7 separate regions of the Homo sapiens genome follow, and all the other regions are linked to region 3. Evidence: promoter capture Hi-C in 16 types of primary human blood cells and fetal thymus (Javierre and others, 2016). All regions are on one chromosome and are shown on one strand. Each heading gives the region's core, a stretch centred on a gene start or on the middle of the fragment in contact. The rest is flanking DNA. Distances are from core to core; before and after follow the strand shown. Region 1 overlaps BCAS3 (BCAS3 microtubule associated cell migration factor). Region 2 overlaps BCAS3 (BCAS3 microtubule associated cell migration factor). Region 3 holds the start of NACA2 (nascent polypeptide associated complex subunit alpha 2). Region 4 overlaps BCAS3 (BCAS3 microtubule associated cell migration factor). Region 5 overlaps BCAS3 (BCAS3 microtubule associated cell migration factor). Region 6 overlaps BCAS3 (BCAS3 microtubule associated cell migration factor). Region 7 overlaps BCAS3 (BCAS3 microtubule associated cell migration factor).

What was found. The method cuts DNA at HindIII sites, captures the fragments that hold promoters and counts their contacts. A CHiCAGO score of 5 or more calls a contact.
Region 1: a fragment that was not itself captured here is called in contact with the fragment with the promoter of NACA2 in region 3 in 1 of 17 cell types (M1 macrophages); the score reaches 5.5 in M1 macrophages.
Region 2: a fragment that was not itself captured here is called in contact with the fragment with the promoter of NACA2 in region 3 in 5 of 17 cell types (M1 macrophages, naive CD8 T cells, M2 macrophages and 2 more); the score reaches 6.7 in M1 macrophages.
Region 4: a contact is called between a fragment that was not itself captured here and the fragment with the promoter of NACA2 in region 3, in 1 of 17 cell types (erythroblasts). The highest score is 5.4, in erythroblasts.
Region 5: a contact is called between a fragment that was not itself captured here and the fragment with the promoter of NACA2 in region 3, in 1 of 17 cell types (erythroblasts). The highest score is 5.3, in erythroblasts.
Region 6: a contact is called between a fragment that was not itself captured here and the fragment with the promoter of NACA2 in region 3, in 1 of 17 cell types (erythroblasts). The highest score is 5.2, in erythroblasts.
Region 7: a fragment that was not itself captured here is called in contact with the fragment with the promoter of NACA2 in region 3 in 1 of 17 cell types (M1 macrophages); the score reaches 5.3 in M1 macrophages.

What each region holds. Positions count from the first base shown.
Region 1 is chr17:61,030,790-61,033,890 of GRCh38, reverse strand. The region is part of intron 16 of BCAS3 (BCAS3 microtubule associated cell migration factor); the gene reads right to left. Among named protein-coding and RNA genes, the nearest start is that of BCAS3-AS1, 100 kb to the left of the region's middle. The HindIII fragment of the contact is 234 bases long and covers 1,369-1,602 here.
Region 2 is chr17:60,968,013-60,970,800 of GRCh38, reverse strand. All of the region lies in intron 14 of BCAS3 (BCAS3 microtubule associated cell migration factor), which reads right to left. Among named protein-coding and RNA genes, the nearest start is that of BCAS3-AS1, 170 kb to the left of the region's middle. The HindIII fragment of the contact is 4,247 bases long and covers 1-2,788 here.
Region 3 is chr17:61,589,952-61,592,758 of GRCh38, reverse strand. It overlaps NACA2 (nascent polypeptide associated complex subunit alpha 2), which reads left to right and starts at 1,540. Exons shown (of 1, transcript NM_199290.4): 1 at 1,540-2,338. The coding sequence starts at 1,579. The coding sequence ends at 2,226. The HindIII fragment of the contact is 7,754 bases long and covers 1-2,807 here.
Region 4 is chr17:60,856,505-60,859,543 of GRCh38, reverse strand. All of the region lies in intron 7 of BCAS3 (BCAS3 microtubule associated cell migration factor), which reads right to left. Among named protein-coding and RNA genes, the nearest start is that of BCAS3, 180 kb to the right of the region's middle. The HindIII fragment of the contact is 1,511 bases long and covers 497-2,007 here.
Region 5 is chr17:60,773,466-60,776,485 of GRCh38, reverse strand. The region is part of intron 6 of BCAS3 (BCAS3 microtubule associated cell migration factor); the gene reads right to left. Among named protein-coding and RNA genes, the nearest start is that of BCAS3, 97 kb to the right of the region's middle. The HindIII fragment of the contact is 4,331 bases long and covers 1-3,020 here.
Region 6 is chr17:60,833,517-60,836,339 of GRCh38, reverse strand. The region is part of intron 7 of BCAS3 (BCAS3 microtubule associated cell migration factor); the gene reads right to left. Among named protein-coding and RNA genes, the nearest start is that of BCAS3, 160 kb to the right of the region's middle. The HindIII fragment of the contact is 1,355 bases long and covers 715-2,069 here.
Region 7 is chr17:61,007,678-61,010,700 of GRCh38, reverse strand. The region is part of intron 15 of BCAS3 (BCAS3 microtubule associated cell migration factor); the gene reads right to left. Among named protein-coding and RNA genes, the nearest start is that of BCAS3-AS1, 130 kb to the left of the region's middle. The HindIII fragment of the contact is 591 bases long and covers 1,456-2,046 here.

The DNA of each region.
Region 1 (3,101 bases), core at 236-2,735, 560 kb after region 3:
AAAAGAAGTAGATCTCCTCTGTTTTCCACAAATAAGTTTTCATGCTCAGCTTCTAATATCGACCTCACACCTTTTCAATCCCGTATTTCTGTTCTCTTTTGGTTTATCAAGGGCTTCCCAAAGCAATTTTGCCAATCACCTTTGATAAATTATTTTCTCTAATTCATAAACCAGTAGCCTCATCGTGCACTGGTAAAGATCACAGCCAAGGTAGGAAACAATAAAAACTAGAGCTCTGATGTTCCTCTCTGCTAGTTAGCCTCCAATGTCAAACATTAGTTCTACCTTATTTTGCTCAATTTTTGTTTTCATCCTTTACTAAAGTATGGTGGGATGGAAAGAGATAGTTTTGGAGTCAGGAAGAAACATGTAGTTGAATCCCAGTGCTGGCACCTCTGAGCTGTGTGACTTTTGGTTAAGTTATGTAACCTCTCAGAGCTCAGACTACTAATATGTAAAATAGAAATAGTAATGCCTACTTCATAGGATTATTTTAATGATTATATTATCTCAAAGCACTGTCCCCAGCTCATAGTACCACCTGAGGACTTCTTAGGAGTGCAAGCAAATACTCATAGGCCCCATCCCAGACCTACTAAATCAGAAATTCTGGGAATGGAGCCCAACAATCCGTGTTTTGAAACAAACCCTCCAGATGATTCTGATGCATGCTCAACTCTGAGAACCACTATATTAGACAAAGCAGGTAAAGTTCCCAGGGCAGTACTTTCCCATATCACAGTACTCAGCAAATACTAACTTTTCTATATGGCCCTCAGCCCCAACCTAATCTTCAAAAAATTCAGACTTTGCTTTGGTAATCTCAGTTTCCCAGTTCCTATGACATTTTAAATAGTCTCTCAGACATCTTATTTCCTGAGGCTTGTTTAAACATCTTCCTCTAAGGATGGCTAAGTCTGGATCAGAGGCAACTATGATTGGTCCCTTTGGTCTCCCCACTTTGAACAAAATCCATGGTAATGCATATTACTATATATGAAAGAAACCTCTTCTGCCATTTACATTTCTTAAAACACTTCTCATTATTCCTGCAACAAAAAACATCCATGCCTAAAATGTCAACCAGTCACAGTGAGACTTCCAGTGACAGGGAATAAAGACATCGTTTTTAAATAAAAAGTTTCTGTGGGAAGCTGAATCTGGCTCTATAAACTGTTTCACCTCTTCATACTTGCATCTGTCACAACTGTAGTAACATACCTCCAGAAAGGAAGACTCTTCTCTGCCCTATACCTGAACAAATATGCACCTTCCCATGATATCTGGGTCACTGGCATCAGAATTGTTCTTTCTGGTTATGATGCTCTCTGTTGCATTACCTGAGAATATAAGGCTTCTTTCAAAGCTTTTATTTCCATCACTAAACTGCTATCATTGAACTGACAAATTCCTCTAGCTGGTATCTTTGAGGTACCACTGGTCATTTTTAATCCTTAGGAGTTTTGGGAAGATGGTGGCTGGGGGAACGGGAAAGAGAAAAGTATTGTAGAATTTTTTGAAAGCAGTTTGCAATTGTGCGACTATGTGCTTTTACTAGAATCACCATCAGAGAACAAAGCTACTACAATGTACCAACAAGCTTCATTGGGACAAACTCAAAGCTCTTTGCAAATTACTGGATGTCATTGTTGTTGTTTTTAAATCATGTGGTAAGTAACAAGTGAGCATGCCTCTTCTTAAGAGAAAATATGGTCCCTCTGAAGTATGCATCCTAAACAGACTTAAAAATAGTTGCTTCCAGGCCAGATGGCAAACTTTCTAACATGATAATAAAAAGTAGAAAAATGAGAGGACGTCAATTTAGTTTTTTGACATACAAAAAATATTTTTTGTATGTTTACTAGTTTAGAGTCTAATCAGCTCATGTCAAAAGCTAAAATCTCTTATACATCTATAAGTTACATACAATTCTGTTTTGGAACACACAAGTAAAAAGCATCAACACGGTGTTATTTTTACATAAGCTCAGTATCTCCTACAGAAAATAAGTATTTTATGGTAAAACTATGCTTAATTTCAGTAAAGAATTACCATTTTTATTTTTATATTTCATCATTTCTTTTTTCCTCTGATAGGGCCTTAAATTTCATTAGTAAAAGTCTGTGTTTATTAAGGAGTCAAAAGAGTTTTCACCCTGAAAATAACTTGCTATCTGCTACATAACATAGTGTTGTGTGTTGGGTATGAAGCATATTGGGTAAACACATTCATATCAAGTTATTTCTATCATCAATCTATAATCTGGAATGATTGTGGTATTTCAGCAAAATAAAAACATAAAAATATGTGTGTGTCTTTAAGATTTGCAGAGGAATAAAAAGGAGAAATAATCTAATAAAAAGAACGTTATGAATAAAATATCTTCTATGGGATACACTCAAAGTTAGAAATTTTAACTTGGGTTCAATCTGCCCTTCATCCTAAGTTTTTAAAAGTCCAAGAAAGCTTGGCAGAAGTAGAAGGGCTTTTCTAGCAATATGCCAGTGACATACAATGTATGAACTTTTCCACAATGACCTAGAATATTTCTATCACAAAATAACCTTTTGTTGACAGAAAGATAAAACATTGAAAAATGATACATACGTGAATGTATTAGAAAAGTGCTAGCTTTGTATATTATGTAAATTTACAGATTGCTGACCCAACCCTCATAGGAAAGCACTCCAATGCTAACCTTTTTTTTCTCTCTTGTTCTCAACATCTCCCTTTCTCCTCCAAAAGGGGTCTTTAAAAAATCTCATTAAAGAACATTTGCAAGTTTAGAAAGAATTTCTCTGGGTGTTTGGATGCCTTCCCTCATTTATTTAATCATTTATTAAGTTAATAATACAATGATAGAAAAATATTTAAATTTGTATTGATGCCCAAAAGTTTAACTGTATTGATTATGTGGACTCATCCATTTTTTTTTAAAATGGTTATACATGAGAACAAGACATACTCTCGATGGACTCCTTTCTACTGACAATTCCTGTTCCTTTACTACCCTTAGTTTTTCACACATAACCCCATGTTCAATAATTTTTTAAAAATTTGACTTAACTTTTGAGCAAAAAATAAAAGAAAAAATGGAATAA
Region 2 (2,788 bases), core at 273-2,772, 620 kb after region 3:
CAATGCTGATTGTAGAATTATTCATCCTATTAATTCTGATTTTATTTAATGTATTTTAAAACTCAGTTTTAGATGCATACATTTATTTTATTTTTTATCATACAGCCCAAAATGTCAAGATGCATTTAAATTATGTGCATTTAAAACTGAGTCTACGTGCATACATTTAAATTTTCCTGATAATTTGACTTTTGAACAGTACAAAATATCTCTGGTAATAGGCTTTGTCTTAAATTCTATTTTAGTTGATACTAATATAGTTGAATTTCCAATATTCTTATGTTTCTTATTTGGATGATGTATCTTTTAATATACATTTACTATCATATTAATGTCTCTATATTCAACACTACCTTATAGGCAATTTCTTCCTTTATATTGGAGTACATTAATATTTAATTTCTATATGGTTGAATTTTGATATACCATTTAATATCTGTTTTCTGTTTATCCCTCTTTTTCTTGTGCTTCTGCCTTTCCTTTCCTGTCTTTTGTATTAACTGAACATTTTTTAGTATGCCATTTTCATTGAAGCATTGATTTTTTATGTATAGCAATGTTGAACCTTGCAATAGTACAGCTCCATATACCTGCCTCCACCCTAGCACCCTCCATCTTTGTGCTATAGTTGTCATATGTATTACATGTACATATAATACAATACCAACAAAATAATTCAATCATTCCCATATATTAGACACAAATTTTTAAAAGGGAAAAATCATCCTTTCTATTCAACAAGAAATGACCATATTCTTCACTATTTCCTAAAGCTGCAAGTTTGCTTCTGGTATTATGTGCCATTAGCATAATTTACAGTGTGGATGTCTCGCCTTTACTGCTCCTTCATCCTTGAGAGATATTGTTGTTTGATGGAAAACTTCAGGTGGCCAATATTTTATTCTTTGAGTCCTTCAGACATGTTATTCCACTGTCTTCTGACTTCCATGGTTTCCAGTGAGAAGTCAATAGTGTGTTAAAATGTACTTTCTGTGTGTGCAATGCATTACTTTTGTCTGCCTACTTTCAAGATTTCCTCCTTACTTTGGTTTTCAGAAAAATGACTATGATGTCCTTTGACATGGTTTTTGTTGTACTTAATCTTATGTGTTGTTTGCTTATCTTTTTGAAGTTGTAAATGTATGTCTTTCAACAAAAGTGGAAAGTTTCCCACTTTTAGATTTTTTTTCCTCCCTTACTCTCCTCACCTTCTGCAATAACTACATGTATGTTGGCTCTGATATTGTCCCACAAGTTGCTAAGGCTCTACTTATTTTCTATTTTTTCACTCATTTGGTTTGGAAATTTCTAGTGATCTATCTGCAAATTCATTTACTCACTCAAATTCTGCTATTAACACATCCATTTCATTTTTATTTTTGATATTGTATTTTTAAGTTGTAGACTTTTCACTAGGTAATTTCCTATATTTTCTCTTTCTCTGCTGACATTTCCTACCCTTTTATTTAAAAGAAGCATATTTTCCTTCATATCACTGAGCATAGTAATAATAGATGCTTTAAAATAATTTCTACTAGAAGATGGAGACTTCCAGTTCCAAAACGGTGGTATAGAAGCTAGCTGGCTTCACTACCCCTGCAGAAAACCAAAAACAAATATATAGTACCGAGATTTTAACCAGAAACACTCAGAACTCAAATATGAGGATGAGACAATTCCTGAGGCCACAGAGAAGTGAAAAAGAAAACCTCAGAGTGAATGGTAAGAGATTCAGACTTCCAGATCTGTAATGCCCCTCCCCCGATTCTGCCTGGCATCAAGAGCACAGAAAATCTCCCCCCCCAACTCATGGTGACTATACTGGAAAAAGTGAGACTGAGGTGGTAAACCAGCTTTCCCACCATCTTGGGTGCTCTGGCAGGAAAACTATCCTTGCCTTAACTGGCAGGAAGTATCGTGGCTGCCTGATGGGAGAAACAACCCTGAGGACAGGCCAAGACAAAGTGGGGAGGCTAGACTACCATCCCTAGCCCTGGAAACTTTGTTCCATTACTTGGCCAAAGGAGACACCAAATTAGAGTGGCTGTTCAGCAGCACCATGTAGTAGGCAATACATTACAAAGGTCCCTGGGCACAAACCCCTAGCCAGACTTGACACACTGTGGGGATAACCACTTTGGGATGCTCCCAAATCAGGATAGGCAGTACTACAATCATTTAGCAGAGCCAAGGTGAACCTGGGCTTTAGGTACCACCTATATCCAAAAAAAAAAGGCAACAACTTAGCTGTAAAGATTCACTAACAGGCCAGACACGCTGCCTCATGCTTGTAATTCCAGTGCCTTGAAAGGCCAAGGCAGGTGAGAGGATCACTTCAGGCCAGGAGTTTGTGACAGGCAGGGCAACACAATGAGAGTCTGTCTCTAACAACAACAACAAAAAAAATTCTTTTTAAAGTTAGCCAGGTATGGTGTCACGTGCCTGTAGTCCTAGCTACTCAGGAGGCTGAGGTTAGAGGATTGCTCCAGCCCAAGAGTTCAAGATTACAGTGAGCAATGACTGCACCACTGTACTCCAGCCTGGGCAACAAAATGAGCCCTGACTCTAAAAGGATTAAAAAAAATGCACTAAGCAAAATATACCCAATAAAATCAAAACAAGGTAGACAGATAAAACTGAAATAAAGTATCAATGCAAAGATACAGATATACACACGAAAAAAACAACAGCAAGTAGGGAATTATGACCTCTCCAATGGACAAAGCAAAACTCCAGTGACAGACCCTAATGAAAGAGTGATCTGTGAGCCCTCTGACCAAGAATTCAA
Region 3 (2,807 bases), core at 291-2,790:
ACAGTATTTGCCTATCTCAGCTAGGACCTCAATACTGAATTACTACCCTATTGTGCTTCTTTAGTGATCATTTTCTTCCTTCTATGCAGCACCTATTCCAAATCTTTTCCATCATACATAAACCTTTAACTCTCTTGCCTTCCCCTCACTCTCAGCAGACAGCTCCTCTAGCCTCTTAGAAAAAAAAAAAAATAAATGTTACCAGATGGGAACTCCTTTGACATCGTGCTACCAAACCTAAAAATCTGCTTGCACCCAAATCCATATTTTTCTTCTTTCCTCCTATTACAATGAAAAGGATGCCTTTCCTGCTATTCAAGATTAGTCGTTCTACTTGTGCCATGGATTTCATTCCTGGCTCCTCAGAACCTTGACTGATCAACTTCCCTCTTTCATTTGTATTTAACTACTCCTTTTAGAATTTAAACATGCTCAGGTCTCTTCTTAGGAAGAATATGTGTTTACCTATCCGCCAACTATAATTATGTCTTCAGCTACTGCACTGTCTCCTCCCGCACAGTTAAACTTCTTATAAGAGTACTCTGATCTAATCCAATCTTTCCATTTCTTCAATTCCTACTTCTCAGCCCACTGCAATCTAACTGCCTTCTGAGTCATCCCCTGTAACTAAAGCAAAAACTCTCTTAACGTATATTTAGCCAACATAATGCAAATTGACTGATACTCTCTGTTGCCTTCGTGAAACATATTGGTGGAAGCCAACGGCACACTCTATAGCTAACGTGCTACTGCCTAGTACATACGCGGATTTTTGTTTTTTGGTTTTCTTTTCTATGGATTTTTTGTTTTCTCTATACAGTTATAGGCTTACCAAGAATCAGTTGTGTTTATTTAACCTATTTATGCTGGGTATTCTTATTACTATAATTATGTAATTTAACTGATTATTACGTAAACTCATTATATAACTGTTATATGAAATATAAATAGAAAAAATAAAATAGTTGTTTCTGTGCAAATTAAATTGAATGGTTTGGAAACATTTACAATTTTCCATTCATTGGGGGAGCAAGAAAAGATCGAGGGAAACCATACATATCTAGGATTCTGCGTTCAGATTGCTTCATGAGCACCTTTGAGTTCTTGGTCTATTTTAAATAAACTAAAACAGGGAATGATAGACAATACCTTTATAGATATGATTTATGTGAGAAAACCGAGGCTGAATTCCAATAAACAGATAATACTCAAAGAAAGGTTTACGGCTCCTATCAAAAGATTGGCAAATAAAAGTACAGTGATATGTTTTCAGTTAAAACAGCATGTTAAATAATGTAAATTTTAAAAAATGATTCCCCAATTTAGTCATTTTTTCAAGGAACTGACCATTAACCAATTCCCAAGTGCCACTCACACCGCACCACTCAGACCGCGTAACTTACAGTCTCTAAATCCAATAGATCCTTTTCCATTCCAACTTGACCTCATGGCAGTGTAGCACTGCTGACAAATGTCTTTTTAAATGCTCTCTTTTTGCTTCCCGCTGCAACAAGCGTGGGTCACGCTCTCGCTCGCGCTCTTTCTGCCGCCATCTTGCTTCCGCGTTCCCTGCACAAAATGCCGGGCGAAGCCACAGAAACCGTCCCTGCTACAGAGCAGGAGTTGCCGCAGTCCCAGGCTGAGACAGGGTCTGGAACAGCATCTGATAGTGGTGAATCAGTACCAGGGATTGAAGAACAGGATTCCACCCAGACCACCACACAAAAAGCCTGGCTGGTGGCAGCAGCTGAAATTGATGAAGAACCAGTCGGTAAAGCAAAACAGAGTCGGAGTGAAAAGAGGGCACGGAAGGCTATGTCCAAACTGGGTCTTCTACAGGTTACAGGAGTTACTAGAGTCACTATCTGGAAATCTAAGAATATCCTCTTTGTCATCACAAAACTGGACGTCTACAAGAGCCCTGCTTCGGATGCCTACATAGTTTTTGGGGAAGCCAAGATCCAAGATTTATCTCAGCAAGCACAACTAGCAGCTGCGGAGAAATTCAGAGTTCAAGGTGAAGCTGTCGGAAACATTCAAGAAAACACACAGACTCCAACTGTACAAGAGGAGAGTGAAGAGGAAGAGGTCGATGAAACAGGTGTAGAAGTTAAAGACGTGAAATTGGTCATGTCACAAGCAAATGTGTCGAGAGCAAAGGCAGTCCGAGCTCTGAAGAACAACAGTAATGATATTGTAAATGCGATTATGGAATTAACAGTGTAACCATCTGAAAGCAACTTTTTTTGGTGTCTCAAAGGAGTAACTGCAGCTTGGTTTGAAATTTGTACTGTTTCTATCATAAATAAAGTTATGACTTCTTGCTGGAAAAAGAAAAGAAAAGAAATGCTCTCTTTTTTTGGTCTCCAAGTGCCGTACTCTCCGGATCTACCTTCTTCCCTGGCTTATTCTTCAGTTTCCTTTGTGGTCATCTTTTCTTCTACCCAGTTCTTAAATATTAGTGCATCTCAGGGGTCTTTCCAAGGCCTTGTGTTCTTTTCACTCTGCACACTCAACATAGGTGATCAGATTCATTTCTCTTGCTGATGATCCTCAAATAGTTTCAGTCCCATCTTTGTCCTAAGACACAGATTTGGATATCCAGCCACCTACTTACCGTCTTTCCTTGGATACTCTCCCGGCACCTCAATCACAGGATAGCCAGAAGTATACTCATCATCTCTCCTCTACCGGATGACTAGAGCTCCTTCTCCAGTGTCCCCAGCTCAGTGAAAGTCACCATCATACCCTTCATTCCCAAACCAGCTACTCGATACTCATCCTTAGCTCTTCCCTATCCTTTAAAA
Region 4 (3,039 bases), core at 3-2,502, 730 kb after region 3:
ACAGCATAAAAAAGAACAAAATCGTGTCCTTTGCAGCAACATAAATGCAGCTGGAGGCCATTATCCTAAGCGAATTAATGCAAGAACAGAAAACCTAATACAGAATGCTCTCACTTCTAAGTGGGAGCTAAACAATGAATTCACATGGACACAAGGAAGGGGACAACAGACACCGGGGCCTACTTGAGGGAGGAGGGTGGAAGTAGAGTGAGGATCAAAAAACTACCTATCGGGTACTATGCTCACTACCTGGGTGACAAAATAATCTGTACACCAAACTCCAGTGACATACAATTTACTGATGTAACAAACCTGAACACGTACCCCCAGAACCTAAAATAAAAGTTGGAAAAAAAATTATTTATCAAGTTTTTCTTGCTAACTCTCTTGTACATATTAAGTCATATGTTTATTTTCTGTATCAATGTTGTTTTAATGTTTAATTTTAATGTCAGCATTAAAATTAATGTTATAACATTATAATGTGGGCTAAGCTTACATTAGCTCTAAAATAAATGATTTCATGCATGAAAAATAAAAAATAAAGGTGTTCATAATAAATAAAATGACGATAATTCTATGATAACTGTTGTAGAAGCAAAAAGAAGAATACAGTTTTTTAATGGCCCTAATATGTTTAAAGATACTTGATTAAAGAAGATATACAGATAGCAAGTAAGCACATGAAAAGATGTTCAACATATTTAATTATCAGGGAAATGCAAGTTGAAACCACTAATGGATACCACTACACCCAATAGAATGACTAAAATTTTAAAAACTAGTAGTACAAAGTTATGGCAAGAATGCAAACTAATTGAAGCCCTCACACATTACTGCTGGAGACGCAAAATGGTACAGTCACTCTGAAAAATAGTTTACCAGTTTGTAAAAAAATTAAACATACATTTTCCATATGTCACAACTAGGTATTTTATTAGCCATAATAAAAAGCCTAGAAACAATTAAATGTCCATCAATAGGTGAATGGACAGTTACATATTAATGCAATGAAAAGTACTCAGCATTTAAAAAGAACAAATTATCTATAAAACAACAAAAGTGAATCTCAATACCATGACTGTGGGAGTAGGGAAGCTATACATAAAAGTCTACACACTGTATGAGTCCCTTCTATGAAAAGTTAAAAAAAAAAACAACAGCCACAACTATAATAATAGGAAGCAAATCAGTGTTGCAAGAGAGAGGGAAAGGAGGAAGGTATGGAGCACAAAGTGGCACGAGAAACTTTTGGTGTGACAGAAATGTTAGTGTATCATTTTTATGATGGTAGTTACACAAATGCATACAATTGGAACAACTGGAGGTGGGAGAGAATCTTGTATAAGCCTGAACTTCAATCTCTAAAATTGACACAAAGCAAAAATTATTTATGTTCCCTACAAATTAATCCAGTCCTCTGCTGATAAGGAATGAGTTAATAATGAATGAAATCTAACATTTTGCCTGACCAACTAGGAGGGGAAAAAAGCAGCCTGTCGCCTTCAATTAGGAGCTCATGATGGCTACAACACACTAGATACTGGAACTCCGATCACTTCACTGGCATCATCCATACAATGTCACAACTGAGAATCTTCATGCAACAAGCCTTCATTAGAAACAGACAAAACAAATGTTACGAAAGCTCAGTTTATAGATAACTGAACAAAATTTGTCAGAACCATAAACTATTTATATATGAGAAAAACCTCTCATTCAACAACTAATAGGAAAAGATAATTCTTTAAAATAAGGGTCTTCACAAATTCACACATTCACAAAGGAGTCAGCACGTTTCCTGCCAATAACACAGTTGGGTGCACGCCCGACATATTCTTTTGTTCTCTGTTTTCTCTTTTGAAAAGCCTTGACCATTTCCATGGAACATAGCAAGACAATCTTAATTTTCCTCATGGGCAGGCTGATGAGAGTGCTTTCCATAAAATAATCAGTATGCATGCCCCATAAGGTGTTATACTAAAATAGACAGACATGAAACAAGCTTTTATTTTCTATCATACAAGCCAAAAATGGTGTAGAAAACAGTGCCACAAGAAAGTTTTACACAGAATACAGTCTTCATGTGACTTCTACAGAGCTCTAATGGATTATTTTTAAAGGATTGTGTTTGACATTTAAACATGGGGCTATGACCTTAAAGGTAAACCTAATAGCATAAAGTGGGGGGAAGTTCCTAGAAGAAGTTTTTAGAGCCAAGTTTAGAATGTAACTGAATCTACTGTAAGCAAATATCAGAGGCTGTAGGAAAGGCAGGAAGGATGCAATTTTTATTAATAAATGCTTCTTTAAAAATCTGTAATTTGTGCCCAGGATCCCATATATACATATAAAAATGCATAGTAAAGGCATTTTACACTATTCATGATAAATGTAAATAGAAATGAATGCAAATTCTCTTTAACTGACCTTTTCTTTATGTAAGTAACTTGTTTTATAGTGAATTACTGAGCATGTGTGTTGAAATTTTATCAGAACAATCTGTTACCTACTGTACATTTGACCCATACCCATAAAGGAAGTTATTAAGATTTTATTAGGGAGGAAAAGGTCCTCATTTTTATATATTACAACAGCCAAAGGTATGGAATTTACACAGTGAATTCATTACAGTGAAGAGGGTTAATTAAAAGTATTTAAAGAACAAATTTCAAAAAATGCTTCTTTTATTGAAAATTAAAAGGTTAAATTAAGTAATTATGAACTATAAAACAAAATATTTAAACCAGATTTCTTAAAAGGAAAAATATTATAAATATAGAAGACAAAAATCAACAAGAAGTCACTAAACATTTTCATCTAAATGAATCTATAATTTTTTTTTTATTTTTTTGGAGACAGTCTGGCTGTATCGCCCAGGCTGGAGTGCGGTAGCTGGATCTTGGCTCACTGCTACCTCTGCCTCCCAGGTTCAAGCGATTCTCATGCCTCAACCTCCTGTGTAGCTGGAACCACAGATGCACACCACCACACCTGGCTAATTTTTTTGTATTTTCAGTAGAGACAGGGTTTCACAAT
Region 5 (3,020 bases), core at 153-2,652, 820 kb after region 3:
GTCTCCCAAAGTGCTGGGATTACAGGCGTGAGCCACCGCGCACAGCCATTTGTTCTTATATTGTTATAAGATAGGTTAAAGAAGGACATTAGTTACATTTGGAAAACTAATATTAATGTATAAAGGTTAAACAACTAATGTGAGATATTATACTGGCATTTTCAAAAATATGAATAAAATACCAACAGCTGATATTAGCTCTATATATGGAGTCATTCTGATTAGAGAGTATACATATACATCTATACACACACACACAGATTACTTTAAAAGTACAAAACTGAGTCAATACTGTTATGATGAATTTAAAACATTAACAAACTGTGAAGCACGACTTTATACAAAGAAAATTTCTCAGGGCAAAATACTGTATGTATTTCCCATACAGAGGGAAATAAGTCTCTCTTTAAATTCTTCACTCAAAACTTTGCTTTTAATCTCTAATTCACAATTCTAATTTTTTATTTCCAATCCAATAAAGACTGCATGTTCTGTTTCTCTCATTTGCATCTTTCTCCTCTCCACTTTGAGCACTGAGTACAAAGAATTAGACCATTCATAATTCTTGGTTCATTTCTTCTCAATGAATGCATGGACCTCTTCTTTATACTTTAATAATAAACACCTATGACCCCCTCATCCATAAGAAGTAAAACACTGCCAAAAACTTTCATTTACTTATATAGACTCATACATCCCAAACCCTACTACCCACTGCCAGGTAGTCAGTATCCTATAATTTGTGCGGATCATTCCTTTGCACACACGGTTTTTGTTTTCCTTCTTTTAATATTAGAAGGTTTTTATTAGTGTGTCTGGTTGTTACTGCTAACTATAAATTTACATAAATTCACTTGGCCTCAAATTAGATTATTTCCATGTTCTACAAATGAAAAAAAAAAAGAAATTCTGAAATATTCCCAAGGTAAACCTATATATACATAAAAACTGCAAAGTACAGTAACAACAACAAGAGAAAAAAATTCAGTGAAAACTAGGTTAAACTAAACAGTAGATGCCAAAAAGATAGTTTAAATGATAACATGGAGGCCCACACTTCTTGTTGTTAAGACTAAAAGCATCATGGGGAAAGAAAAAAATGATGCCAGACTCTGAAAGGCAAGAATCATAGTAGTCCCTTGTTGATAGTTAAGAGGAGAAGGAAAGTTTAAGACTCCTTTACCTATTCATGAGATCAAAAGAAATAAAGGAATCCCTTGGTGTTTTTATCACTTTCTTTTGCTACTGCATCTAGCACCCGAGAGAAAAAAAACCCCACAATTAATGCTATGATACCTCCAGAAATTTCTCTATAATGCCTGCATCTTTCAAAGTGTTTGAAACTTAACTTCTCCAAAGATACATTAAAATTTTTAAACTGTCTTACAAATGAAATTCAATTTGAAATTTATTTTTTTCTTTATTTATAAAAACTCACATAGGACTTTTACTACATGCCAAGCGCTATCCTAAGCACTCTTAAGTCATCCAAAACAAGGAACTAAGGCAAAATGCTGAACCTCTGCAGCAGATCAGATTTACCCTCCTGCCAGGAAAACTTAAGAAACAGATAAAATATATAAAAAACAGTTTCAGACATCCAACAACACGCAGCCCAGGACAGTGATCCTTGAGACAAGGGAAACAATTGATGTGAGCCCTGTGAATGCCCCAACTTACCACTCATTCATTTGAGTATTGTCAATGGCTGCTTTTGCCCAATAGGGCAGAGATGAATAGTGGAATAGTCAGGACAGATGGCCCACAAGCCTAAAATACTATCTAGCTCTCTTAAGAAAATGTCTACAGACCCCTGCTCTAGACTAATGGCTATTCTAGGAATACCTAACAAAGAGTAAGAGAAAGTATTGAAAGAATAAAATTATTGCCAAGTAGTTTAACTGTGTCCCAGGACAAAACCAAAAATATTTAAAGGAATACAAAATAGTCCTGAGCAACACAAAATTCAAAATGTGTGGCATCCAAACAAAAATTTTAAGTCATGCAAAGAAGCAGGAATAGATACAACCCATAATAAGGAGAAAAATCAATCAACAGAATCAAATTAGATAACCACATTAAAATTCCTATGATAAACATATTCCATTTATTCAAGGAGAGGAAAGTGAACATGTCTCCAGGCACATGGAAGATCTCTGTCTCTGCACACACACATGCACATGTACACGCAAATTGTAAGTGAAAAATGCAGTGTCTGAGAGAAAAAAATACACTGGATGGGTTAACAACATTAGATACTGCAGAAAAAAAACATGAAGAAACATGAAGAGGCACCAATAGAAACTACTGGAACAAGAGGGGAGGGAAAGACTTCAAAAGTGATCAGAGCATCAGTGAGTTGTGAAACGACATCAAGTGAGCTAAAATCCATGCAGAGGAAGGAAAGAAAATATTTTAATACGGTTTGTAAAAGGCATTGTAAAGAAAATAAGAAGACAAGCCATAGGTAGAAGATATTTCCAAAAGCCTTATCTGATAAAGGACTATTATCTAAAACACACAACGAACATAACAGTAAGGCCGGGCAAAGTGGCTCACACCTGTAAATCCAACATTTTGGGAGACCAAGGCAGGCCAATCACTTAAGTGCAGGTGTTCGAGACCAGCCTGGGAAATACGGTGAGAACCTGTCTCCAAAAAAATACAAAAATTAGCCAGGCATGGTGGCGTGCGCCTGTGGTCCCAACTACTTGGGACACTGAGGCAGGAGGATCACGTGACCCTGGGAGGCAGAGGCAACTGTGAGCCATGATCACGCCACTGCTTTCCAGCCTGGACAACAGGATGAGACCCTGTCTCAAGAATAAATAAAAAAAAACTCAACAATAAGAAAAAAACCTGATGAAAAAATAGGTTAAAGACCTCAACAGTTGGCTGGGTGTGGTGGCTCATGCCTATAATCCCAGTACTTTGTGAGGCTGAGATAGGCAGATGGTTTGAGTCCGAGAGTTTAAGACCACCCTGGGCAACACGGCAAAACCCCATCTCTACAAAAAATA
Region 6 (2,823 bases), core at 143-2,642, 760 kb after region 3:
TTAAAAATTAAGAAAAGAATTAAGAGAATTAATGTTAACTATCTGTTAAAAGATTTAATCACTCTGTCTGATACAATTATCCAACCCCACAGAATGTATAACACCAAGAGTGAGCCTTAATGTGAACTATGGAATCTGGGTGATAATGATGTGTCAATGTGTCAATGTAGGTTCATCAACTATAACAAATGTACCACTCTAGTGGGGACTGTTGATAATGGCAGAGGCTATAAATGTATGCGGGCAGGAGATATGTGGGAACTTTCTGTATCTTCCACTCAATTTTGCTGTGACCCTAAAACTCCTCTAAAAATCTCCCAAAAAAGCTGAGAGGATAAAATTTTTTTAGAGAATCCATTTTTTAAAATTCATTTAAAAGTCTAAACAATTAATGACTAAATGAGAAATTCAGGAGACATACTTGGGAAAATTCCATTTCTGAAACAAACATCCTAAAATGTTTGACATTCTACCTTTTGTGAATCTTGCTTTTCTAATAAGGCTAATATCTGTTACTGCTGTATAATATCTATAATTTCATCACGAGAATATGAATATTGTACATTTGATAAATACCACCCATTGTTATAAAGGCTTTACAAGTACTATTTCATTTAACCTTTCCAATAACCCTATGATGTAGGTAAAACTTTATACAGGAAAGCCTCTCTTTCTTTCTTTTATTGCAGCAACCATGGCCTGATAAGAAAAGCTTTTCTTTAAACATTTGATTCAATCTTCAAATTTTAAAAAAGGAACACTTTAATCTTTAATATTCAGCAATAAACTACCAGTGGAAATGTTTCTAACAATAGCAAAGATTTTGGTTGCTAAAACATGTAATATTTAAGTTGCTGATACTCATTTACTGGTTGATTAGGAAATCTATTTATAGATGAAGAAGAGAAGTAAAAGAAGACTGAAGTTTCAACCTTGACTTCAGTAACATCAGGTTTCCAAATAACCAAAGAAAAAACTAACAAATCTGCCTTCGGTATTCATGTAGTAGATAATATAATCAGCCATAATAATAGCATAACTGTTACAGTGTACTGTTTGAAAGTAGTAATTCAGGATACTAAAAATCTCATATTGTAAATCCACATGTAAAAGAAAAATATATTTATAGCTTTAATAGCAAAAATATTAATAAATTGTTCATTATTTTTTAATTTTGGAAGATATATGAATTTAATGTCCATTAGAAGATTCTATTGTACTTTCCTATTTTATCGCTTTCTTCTGATAGATAACAAAAGTGCAGAAACTGCTGGCAGAGGAATACAGAAGAATAGAGAGGCAAAACAGACCAGTTAAAAATTAAACATTAAAATTTTAGTTAATGATAAAGAAATACATCATAAAGTTCCCTAAAAATCATGTACAGTTAGTTTTGAGTCATACTATTATAAGGAACTTTTGAAAACTAAAAGAATATACTAGGGAAAATTTATAAGTTGGTTATAGTAGAAGCACTAACAACCACAAAAAGCAAGATGTTGCCGGGATTTATTTCCCTAAAAGCAATATAACTTAAAACTCCTTATCAGTTATGATAAACAAAAAAATACAGAGTCATTTTTCATATTAACAGATACACACAACCATAGCTAACAAAAAAACATGGGGTACTTGAAATGAGGATACTAAAGTCTAGCTCAACTCATAAAAAGATGTTAATTATACCATCTTCTGCCAAGCAAGCACAGTGAGGCCAAATATACTACTATACTGTGAAAGAGTATGCCCAGTTTTATTACTCTAGTATCATCTTAAAACTTGATAATCTACCAATGTAGATTAGTTTGAGTACACATATGAAATCAATAGAAACCACTTCACTAAACATTTCAAAGTAACCAAAGTTCATCACAGCATTTGAGACATGCTGAGAAATGAAGTAAAGCCAAAATTAATAGATTATGCTTAAAGTCTAATTCTCAAAATCAAGGAACAACCTGTTATATCAAGACAGAACAGGAAACATTTTAGAGAAGGATATGTGTAAAAATTTATAGTCAATTATTTTCCTTGTCAATTCTTAAAATGATAGCAGAAAAATCTAAGCTTTTGCTTATCTTTATTAAGAAGACAATAAAATATCCTGTTCTAAATTAATACTTCTAAGAAATCTGACATATTATTGAAGTACAACAAAATTATTCCTCTTGTACCATAAAATGTTTTGTTTGAAAACTAGTAAGAATATTTACATTCATTTTACATAAATGTTATTATATTACATAATTTGTGATAAAGCCACATTAGTATAATTTCTCTTTCCTGTTATTAGAATCAGAAAAATATCACATGATGATTTAAATCCTTCTAATGATAATATGCAGTTATTTTATAGTGAAATATAACTTAAATTGCACCAAATACCTACAGATATAAATACAGCTTTAAAAAGTAGTTTCACGTTTTGACAGATTACTTTTCATAGTAGACAGAGAAGTAAAATGTTTTCTTATTTGGCTTTTCTTGTAAAGGCAGTTGGAATTGAGCGGAAAATGAAGGGGCGTCAAATGACAAAGCCAAATGTTGCAAAATATATCTATTATATCAAATGTGGATAATTACAGTTTTGAAAGAATACGTGAAGTGAAAATATATAAGTGCCTTACCACTGATTAAAGTTTTTGTAAACATATGTACCGAACGAAATAAAAATAAATTGTTTGTAACATAATTTTGAAACTTGGTAGTTCAAACAAATAGCCCTCATTCACAATTCACAAAACTACTATATGAATGAATGGTCACAGATGCAATGCAAAAGTATAAGTGTGCAAAATGCAAAATACTAAGGTTATAATGAAG
Region 7 (3,023 bases), core at 502-3,001, 580 kb after region 3:
AAAATTATTTAAAAATCAGAATTTTTAAAACATCCCTTGATGTTTAAAGCTATGATGTCTTGTTTTTGTTCTGCTTTCAGTTTTTTGTTTACTGCTATTATTGTTTTTAATATTACAATACAAAGCCATTACACCAGAACCATTCACTTTCGGGTTCAACCACTGACTTTCTATGTTTATCTTCTAAAAGTTTGCAATTTAAAAAAAAAAAGGAATTATGAAAACAACTTCTTGTGCTCTTTTTTTCCTGTTACCTTTTGGATAAAGGATATCTACAGGTACGTGTACTTTGGGGGACACAAACTCTCAATCTCCATACTAACACATAGTTCCACTGTCTGCATATATGAGAATGACATGGTGTGATCTGTTTACTAAAAGTTTTGCTAACTTCAAAATACCATCTTACTTATGCTTTGTCCTAAATTATGTTTTCCCAGACATTCTATACTATAAAAACACAGAAGAAAAATGGATTAAGTTGAGGATAAAAGTGAACAGAGAAAATAACAATGGGCTTTGTTGCCACGCTGGAGGAATAGCTTGTCAGGTCAGCTTTGCAGAGAGGCATATTCCCAAACCAGTCATCATTAACAGACTCACTTCCACAGGAAAAAAAAAAAAAAAAAAAAGACAGAGTCTGAAAACTCCGGACAAAAGAAATCCCTGCAGACAAAGTAAAAACAAATTAAAAGACCCATTATAAAACACAGATGCTACAAGGAAAATAAACTTTCTAAGATTTACTGGGCTTTGACAAACTTGGACATTTGTGGAAAAGACATCAGCAGCAACTCCCAGGTAATGTGGCTGCAAAGTTAGACTCCCTTCTGTTTTATCTTTACCCTCTGTGCAGAAGCTGCCAGGTTGGTATTCTTAGCTTCTGAATGCAGTGATGTGAGAACATGTGAATGTGGCAAACTGCCAACTGCAAGAACTCTCTGAAGCTAGCAAAACTGAAATTGTTGAACATTTCAGATTATGTTAAATATTAAAGTTACTATCAGTGTATCTGTGTGTACATATGTATAGTTGTCTTTCTTCCGAGATACAAACAAGAAGAGGGAAAATAAAAAATGAATGTATTTGCATCCTTTCTACCTTTAAAAAATTTCCATATCTTACCATATTGTGAACCAAAGGACATAAAATCAGTTAAAATAACATTAAGGAATCAAATGACAATAGTTGTAGATCAGAAAGTACCTTAAAGGAGTGTCATACCAGAGAGAGAGAGAAATTTTTGTTACAGGTTTCTAAAAGTTATTGTTAATGGAGGACAAAGAAAGATTCTTTAGGAACAGAAGGTATGAGAAACTAAGACCTACAATGGAATAAAGTGGGTCAAGTGAAACATTTGGAGGATAAAAAGAGCACTGTCCTTCTGTTGTCATTAGACATATGAGGTAAGTATAGTATTAGAGTATTAGAGATAAGTATAGAAACGGCAAAGCTTCATTTGCAAAAAGAGCTAAAGGACACTAAGCAATGGTGCCCTGTGAAAGAGCAGTGTTATTAGGAGGTCCACATATCATCCCACTTATTCTTACCACAGACACAGACCTTATCCACTTTAGGCACTCCACTTTTCTGAAGGTTTACAATAGACACCTTCCTATAACTCAGTACTCTAGACTCCTACGACTGTATTAAATTCTGTTCTCATCACCTCTCCATACACTTATCTACAACACCCACTATTGTTCTAGGATATAAGCTCCTCACCTAGTGTCTTTGGTCTCCTATTTGGAACTCTTGCATTTTGAAATCGGATTACTGAGCCACACTGAAGCCCGAGGTCAATGTGACTCTCTGGCACTCCTCAGAAGACAATTCTACGGAAACAGCCCCAGTCCCAAATATCTCCTTTATTTTTGCCCTCTTTGCAACACTTTACCTATTCTAAGACATCATGTAGATGTTCTATTCCCTATATCATATCTTTCAAAAATAAAAACTAGATGATGAGTTCTACGGGGCCTTTTTTTTTATTTTTTTATTTTTTATTTTTTGGTAAACTTTTGTCTTCTACAGAAGAGCAAAGCTTTTGGACTGTTTTTAATATCTTGCTGTGGAATTGACAGGGATAAAAATCTAAAATATACCAAGGAGTTTAACTAAGTTAATTCTGTAGTTGAAAAGCTCTGACTTCTTGACTCTGTCAAAGAATACAATGGTAGCTTGTTTTGAAATAGTCACTGGAAATGTGGGCTCTGAAAAGTTAAAAACACTGCTTAGTTCTTGCTTGCCATCCAATTTAACATTAAAGTTTTTTCAACCAAACTCTCAATAGTTATTTAACAAAAAATACCCTGTGTAGAAGGGAATTTCCTGCAGGTGGGTTATTTTTGGTTGGGATGGGAGTGTGTGTCTCTCTCTCCATCTCTCTCTTCTCCCCTTTCCTAGATGAGAATGTCAAGCTTCCCAGCTGCAGTTCCAGGACTTTCACCCTCCTTTATGACCTTTTCTCAGGCATGTTCCAGTATAATCTGCAATCTACTCAAGTCGGAAAAGGAAACAGCAGCACCCTGGTGAGAAACAGTGCCTTCTGACCCACATACCAAACTGGGCGGAAGCAATGCTTGTTCACAGGAGCCAAGGAGAGTAGAACACACACTAAAAGAAAATGAATTTTATGTGTGTGTGTGTGTGTGTGTGTCGACACACAGACACACATTTTTAAAGACTATAAACACAACAAACAGTTTGGGTGACAAATAAAGACAGAAAATACTGAAGGACAATCCTGTGTGGGCACTGATTCATTTTGCCTATAACTTTTTTTTGGAGGCAATCGATGGTGAAGTAAAAACACTGCAATTTTTGATGCATTTCAAGCAAAAACACTTGTTGCTTTCTTTGAGTAAAAAGTTCACGTCACCATAGACATTACTGTAGGTACTTTGAGAAAGGGTGAGAAGGTAGGAAGATTAGAGAAATCTCCCACAAAATGGACTTGAAAACAAGAATCCAATCTTTCTTTTTTTTTTTTAAACAGGATGGGGATTGAGATTATTAATGAT